Regions from separate parts of the Homo sapiens genome. Here region 1 is linked to region 2. Evidence: promoter capture Hi-C in 16 types of primary human blood cells and fetal thymus (Javierre and others, 2016). All regions are on one chromosome and are shown on one strand. The core of a region is centred on a gene start or on the middle of the fragment in contact, and the rest is flanking DNA. Distances in the headings are between cores, read along the strand shown.

The links. Contacts are between HindIII fragments. The CHiCAGO score rates a contact against its expected background, and 5 or more counts as called.
Region 1: a contact is called between the fragment with the promoter of TCHHL1 here and the fragment with the promoter of S100A7A in region 2, in 1 of 17 cell types (M0 macrophages). The highest score is 5.1, in M0 macrophages.

Annotation. Positions count from the first base shown.
Region 1 is chr1:152,087,155-152,091,036 of GRCh38, forward strand. TCHHL1 (trichohyalin like 1) reads right to left here and starts at 1,910. Exons shown (of 3, transcript NM_001008536.2): 1 at 1,866-1,910; 2 at 852-1,009; 3 at 1-389. The coding sequence starts at 989. The HindIII fragment of the contact is 6,885 bases long and covers 1,453-3,882 here.
Region 2 is chr1:153,414,986-153,418,554 of GRCh38, forward strand. S100A7A (S100 calcium binding protein A7A) reads left to right here and starts at 1,535. Exons shown (of 3, transcript NM_176823.4): 1 at 1,535-1,578; 2 at 3,081-3,238. The coding sequence starts at 3,098. It also overlaps a transcript of S100A8 not described here. The HindIII fragment of the contact is 2,279 bases long and covers 1-2,076 here.

The DNA.
Region 1 (3,882 bases), core at 660-3,159, 1.3 Mb before region 2:
TTGTGTTCAGATGCTTCTCCTGGAAAGTTGTGAGTCTTGGCTTCTCTCCATGGGTCCACTCTGTTATTTCCAACTGCTCCACTTTCTTCAGGGATGAGCTGAGATGATGATGCCATTCCTGAAGGAAGCATCCTCTTTTCTTGAGTTGGTGAAGTTCCCACTGTCCACTGACCATCTCCGGTGGTTGCCTGAACATCCACATCATCTAGCTTCTCCTTCTCTGGTTTAGTCACCTGTCTTAGTTCAGAACTTAGTAATGATTTTATGTCAAGATAACAGAGGTTCAACAAGTTGAAGATTGCAAGAACAAATTCATCAAAACTGATGATGCCATTACTGTCAATATTCAGAAGATTTGAATTTTTTTCCACAGCATGAAGGACACAGGGCTGCATGAAAACACAGTGAGAAATCAGCTTATTTATATGTGGTCCAGTGTCCTAAGTGTCTCCCAAGAATCCTATTTTTCTGACCTCATTCCTCAGTAACTGGTTAACTTTCCCAGAACAGCAAGAACTTATTGGTTCTGCAAGCCATTTTTCATCAGAGAGCTATGCCTGAGAAAGAGCATTTACAACACTTGTGAGTTGCATTTTGATGCATAATGGTTTATGACTCCTTTCAGAAGTCAGCTTTGCAGAAGCAATAATCCCAGTGACGAAAACCTCTTTTTCTCTAAGTAATTGCACAGAGTATGGAACTGAGACTGAAAATAGTTGTTCAAGAGACAGTGAGTGCTGAGAACTGTTAGCTAGGTGTAAAATGGATGGGGATCACATATGCTCATCTTGCTTGGATTATAAAGAAAGGGTGAGTTGGAAAGAATTTACACAGCTCTGTGAGAAGCTCACCTGAAAAAAGTCCCCAAACTCGCCCTGGATGAGTTGTTTCAGCTCTCTGCCAGTCAGTGTTGCCCCGTTACTGTCCTCACTGGCATATTTGTGGAATGTCTCAATTACACAGAGGACATTTCTCAGGAGCTGAGGCATCTTTACAAACTCAGGAGAGGCTGTGAGAAAGAATAAACAAAGCTCATTTTCCAGGATGGGTCCTTCAGGGAGGAGATACCAAGATTATCCTTTTTGTTCCTCCCCCATCTCCACTGCAACCCCTGCTCTATTCTGTATCTTAAAATATTATATCTGAACTCCAGGGGTGATTTAGTATTGTACCAGACATTGTGGTGAAATCAGACCCAGCATAGGTAAGTATTAGAAGAGACAATTCACCCCACTCTTCAGTAAACAGCAACATTCATGTGCTCAGAGAAAGCTTCATTGCAAAAGGAAGGTGATAAGAGAACTCAAGCATAAGGATTGAAATGCATAAATGAAGCCAATAGAGTTGGACCCATTCTTCCAGCCTCATCCAAGAGTGTCTATCTGCTCTCCTCTCCCTTTGGCTCAGTCTAGCCTCCTGCGGTTAGGAGGGTATAACCTTTAAAGTTAGCAAAGCTTCTAGTGGAAAGATAAGTCACACCAAGAAAATTAACCCCTATGTTTGCAGGTGGTAACAACATGCTTTAACCAAGAAGACATGATTCCATGTCCCGACCCCTTATTCATTCATTTCCCATCCTTTAAATGCTTCTACATTTTCATTGCAATAGAGATCTGATCCTGTGCCTTGTTGAATAATATTCATGCCTATGACTTCTAAACAATTTATGTTTTTTTTAAAAAGAAAATGATCAAAGAAGTTCCATAATCAAGGAATGCATTTGGGTGGTTGGCGCTCCCAGTTTATTATTATTAATAGGGGTTGACATAGACTTAAAGTGTGTTTCCTTTGAAATCCTCTTGCAATCTCACATATAAGCAAAACAGCAACTGAAATCCCAAGTATGCTCAAGCAGATGGACTTACCTAGTTCACAAGCGAGAGCAGGTAGAACGTGGGGCAGCGGGCTGTGAGCTGACAGCAGGAGCTGGAACCTTTTATTGAGGTCCTAATTGCACAGTTAAGAAGGAGACACCCTCTGGGTCTAATGACCTGACATCACCACCAAATCCAGTCTCCCCTGCTCTGTTGTCAGTTGTCTTAATTTTATTTCCTTCTTTAGGCAGTTTCAATTAAATCTTAGCTTCAGATGCATCAAAAGAAAGGGGAGGGGGTTTCTTGATTCATTTACTGACTTTTGCAGATTATAGTTTTGAAGGCTCTTCAAGGTAGTGTTGGCTTCCCTCCCCCATTTTTTAACCTAAGGACATAATTACATTTCTGTCTGACAAATCATAGTGCTGGCAGGGACCTCATAAGTCATCTGATTCCTCTGTCTGCCCACAAGATGGCCCGTATTTGACCCAAACCTGAGAGATGGGTGTCAATCATGTGTTTAAAAATAAAGGCCCCCATTTAGCCATGTGACAAAAGTGGAGATACCAGTTGATTCAGATGTTTCAATGCTTTGCTCTCCTTGCCCAGAGGCAGAGTTAGAAAAAAAAAAAAATTCTTGCTTGGTGTGCAAAGCCTTGCTTACCTATGTTGTGCTATTTTAAAAACGTGATTGATATTTGCTTTCTAAAGACATTTTTACTATACAAGGAGCTTGAAACCAATAATCTATATTACTGTGTTCTCCCTGTAAAGGGGAAAGGGAGATGTTGAAATCATCAAGCTGAGAACAGAAGTGAGTCTGAGATGCTGAACTGGCAAACATTTTAATTGTCTCCTAGATCTGGGTCCTTCTTAGTAGAGAATATTTAATAAAATAAGAATTAGATTCAATGGTTTTCTTAGATATTTTTAAAAAATAGAGTATGTTTTAAAACACTCCTTGTCAAAGGATGGAAGAAATAGACAGATCAATGCAAACAAATATAAAAGACACAGACCAAGTTAAAGATGGGGTGGGAATGGGGGTAATTATATGAGAAAGCTGAAGCTAAGGGATGCATTGCTATTGAGCAAAAACCTTATTCTGAATTTCCTGATTATCGAGGAACATACAAGGGAACTAAATTTTGGGGAAAAACATTCATACTGATACTTTACACCTACAAACAATTTCTCAGCATCCTCCCAAAGGGAGAAGACTTCTGGGAATTGGAATTGGCATGTGAAGGTCATCTTAGTTCTGATTAGTTAATATCCCCAGAGTACCAGCTATTTCTCAACACTATGCCAGGAACTGGAGTGTTTAGAGTTGAGTAAGTTATATCTTCCTGCTCTGGAGCTCATGGGCCAGTCTCATGAAGAACTGGGTATATTCAAGGCTGGATTGGAAAGAAACACTTATGGGAGACATAATAACTGTCTTCAAATACTTGAAGGATTTTTATGGGTGTGGAAGAGAAAAGAATTAATGTTTATTGAAAACTTATGACATGTCAGGAGCTTTACATGGGCTATCTTAATCCTCACAGCCCTTTTAGGTAGTTATTATCCTCTTTTAACAGATAAGGAAGTTAAGGCTGTTAAGCAATTTGCCTACAGATATGTACCTTTACTAGGTAATGGCAGAGTCAGGATTCAGAAATGAAAGGTTTCAAGAAAGTATGTCTCTGGGCCAGGCGTGGTGGCTCACGCCTGTAATCCCAGCACTTTGCGAGGCTGAGGCGGGTGGATCACCTTAGGTCAGGAGTTCTAGATCAGCCTGGCTAACACGGTGAAACCCCATCTCTACTAAAAATACAAAAATTAGCTGGGCATGGTGTCACATACCTGTAATCCCAGCTACTCGGGAGGCTGAGGCAGGAGAATTGCTTGAACCCGGGAGGCAGAGGTTGCAGTGAGCCGAGATCATGCCACTGCACTCCAGCCTGGGTGACAGAGCAAGACTCTGTCTCAAAAAAAAAAAAAAAAAGAAAGTATGTCTCTGAAGTCATAGTGTTTTCATTACCTTGAGTTTCTTATTTGTGTAATGCCCGGTAATACAGCTGGA
Region 2 (3,569 bases), core at 285-2,784:
TGCATGATGTACCTCCCACTTACACATGAGGGTGCACAGTGTTTGACTTTCTTTTTCTGAGTAATTTCACTTAAGATAATAGCCTCCAGTTCCATCCATGTTGCTGCAAAAGTCATCATTTCATTCTTTTTATGGTTGAGTAGTATTCGTCTGTGTGTGTGTGTATGTGTGCGTTTGTGTGTGTGTTTGTGTGTGTGTGCGTGTGTGTGTGTGTGTGTATCTTTTGCCGCTAAAAGTAATATTGCCGTCATATGGGAAACTGGGAGAGGGAGAAACAGGTCCCCCTGGTTACATAAGAACTGACAGAGAAGGAAGTTGAAGAAAGATGATGGGTGGAGAAAATAGGTCCCACCTAGGGAGACATCACATCAGCTCTATGGAGCCCCAGAGTGCTTAAAGGGCTGGCACTAAATGAACCAGGACCTCTTGCGGCCTACAAGGAACATTGTAAGGGGGTAGCAGAAAAAGTCCATTTCAGTGATTCATCATCTCCTTTTCCTCACCATGCCCCAGGGACTCCTGTGCCTTCCCAACCCTCTTGCCCCTACCTGGTTCAGGCTTTCCACAGCAGGTTAGGGCACATTATAGCCAAGGGCACAACTCCCAACTCCTACACAGGCTGTTTTGCATAGGAGGAGGAAAAACACTGAAGACTTTCTGGGAAGTTAGTGCCATGGGGCAGGAAAGAACTTTTCCCACTCCCTACCTCCAGGCTCATTCCATGGGGCGGGGGGGGCGGGGGTCACTCCACCACTCAACCTAGATAGTGAGGCCCCTGACCCCAGTCCCCCCACCTAAATCCAGGGCTTCTGTGAGGGGCTGACCAATGGTTAGCAATGAAGTAATCCTGCTTCCCTCCCTGGACTTTGAGTTCCCATAGGGCAGACCCTGATGCAACCCAAGACCTATAGCACAGGGGATAAGAGTAAGGATTTGATTCAGGCTTTTCTTTGTTCGTGTGATGATTTGTTGTGTTTACTAGCTGAGTAAACTTGGGAACATCTCAACTTCTCCTTTCCTAAAATAGAGATTGCAGCACCTGCTTCTTAAGACTATGAGGGGAGGGTTGAGGAGGATGCAAGAGCAGCAGGTGTCTTGATGTCTAGACATTAAAACGCTCAGTAAGCGGTGGGGGTCATAGAACAGGCTGTCACAACAAATGTGTGGAAGTACTGGGGGAGGGAATAAACAAGACCATGCTGCCTTTGGGAGTCTGAAACTCCATTCTCTTTGGGTCCAGAGGCCCAGTGCTCTTTTCTCCCATTTCCTGACCTGTTACTACACATGTACCGCTGCCTTACCCTCAAATCAAGATTGAGCCAGAGAAGGCCCCAGGTGAGGTCTCTGGGGTGGGGTGGGACCTGGTGACCTGGGACCCTGGCCAGAAATCCTGAGCACAGCCTCCTGGGTGTGTCCCACACACCTGATATGGGACAAGCCTCCAAGAAACAGATGACAGAGGTGGCCCCAGGCCTCCCAACCCGTGGGAAGAGCCAGGCTGAGCCTTATAAAGGACTGCTCTTTGTCCAAACACACACATCTCACTCATCCTTCTACTCGTGACACTTCCCAGTTCTGGTAAGTCTCACCTGCCTCTTTGCATTTTCTAGAAGTGCCCAGTGCCCAGCCTGCCATGCTGCCTGTAGGAAGGGAAAGGGCTGTGGACAAAGTCTCAGAAGCCTGGGTCTAGGCCAGCTCTGCCATTAGCTGGGCTGTGTGACCTTCACTTGACCCCAAAAGCCCACGTCTGTACAACCAGGTGGCTGAACCAGACCTGTCCATTGCTCCTTTGGGATCTCCTGAGACAACTCCTGTGGAAATGTCCCCAGTGGGACCTGAGCACAGGACCCTCCCTTTCCTTCCTGTCTTCTTCCTCCCTGGATTCATTCTCCTTTTGGGATCCCAGTTGCTGAATCCCCTCCCCAGCTCTGCCCCCACAGAGGGAGGAGGGATAAGGATCCCCTGTGAATGCTTTGGAGGCTCTCCAAACCCCCAGGCCTTGGACCTGTAAATTCTCAGTCAATCTCTGGGCACAGGGCTTGGCCTCTGGCCTTGGCCTTGGCCTCAGATTCAGAAAGCTTTGAGTGGCTTCTCTTAGTCAGTTGCTGGCACGGAGCTTTCTCCTGCGTTGAGAGGTGTTGGGGGTTTATTGTCAGATGCCCACATGCGTTAGCCAAGGTCCTTTTCTGGTTCTTTGGAAAGTGTAGAAATGAGAGCTGCACTGTCTTATTTTTCAGGCTTGGGGTGCAGGGCAGCCCAGGCTGGCTACTGGCTGGAAGATCTGCTTTGGAAAGTCAGACATTTTTATTTAAACAGGGTCAACCCTTGGTGATTCAGAGGGTGCAGATATTTCCCAAGAGCAGACATGAAGCGACTCCCACCTCACTCCCACCCCATCCAGCAGCTTAAGAACCAGGGAGTTATTTCTGTTCCTTGTAACAGAGGCAATTCTTGTTTCTCATTCCCAAGGGAATGTAGGAAGGGCCCCCTGTCCTCGGGAGAGGGCTGTGTTTCCTGCTCACACTCATGTCCACGCTCACATGTGCACCTGGAGCCTGCACGCACTGTGTCATGCAGGGCTTGCACTTGAGTCAAGGTGGGGCCCACGGTGTCTGGTTCCTGAAGCAGCCGAGGAGGGTCAGACACCAGATCACCAAGGCCATTGTCCTGCCCCCGTGACTCTCACCCCGACTGTGAAGCTGGAGGAGATGGATTTGGTGCTGTTTCAAGAGTGGGGTCCGCCATGTGCTGGTTGAGGCTGGGGGGTCCCAGCTTAGTTCTTCTATGTGTTGCTGGCCTCCGACTCTCCCTGCTTCTCCTTCTCTGAAGCACTGTCCACAGCTGGACTTCTGCCATCCACCTGCATCTCTTCTTGGCCCTGGCCAGGATGGGCCGGGTCTCAGACTTGGTCCTACCCTCTCATTTTTGAACAACTTATCCCATCACATTTAAAAAAATCAAGTTCCTTCTGCTCCATCTTAGGGCTGTTTTTACTCTGTCCTCAGCCCTCCTTCTAACACCCCCACATAGAGACCTTAATTCAAACTAAGGTAAGAAATGATTGTCTTTATTTCCTGAAGGCTTTTTGAAAGCAAAGATGAGCAACACTCAAGCTGAGAGGTCCATAATAGGCATGATCGACATGTTTCACAAATACACCGGACGTGATGGCAAGATTGAGAAGCCAAGCCTGCTGACGATGATGAAGGAGAACTTCCCCAATTTCCTCAGTGCCTGTGTGAGTTGGGGTCTAGCTTCTCAATGTTGGTTGGACCCTGGCATGGCTGAGGATACATTTTGCTATGTGGCCTTGGACAGGTCACCCTCATCCTCTGATTAAAAAGTTTCCCATTTGCAAATAGGGCTTTATTGCTTGGATCATATGTGAATCTAAGGATGGTAGGCGAAAAAGTATGAAAATGGGAAAGAGTTATACAGATATAAAGGAGGTTATTAGATGGTCAGCAAAGTGTGCAGCTTGAGGACAGTGCACAGTCCCCTCCCAGCGCTCACTGACCCTCTCTCTGTGAGACTGAAACTCACATGCTCAGGTCCTGCTTCCCAAAGGC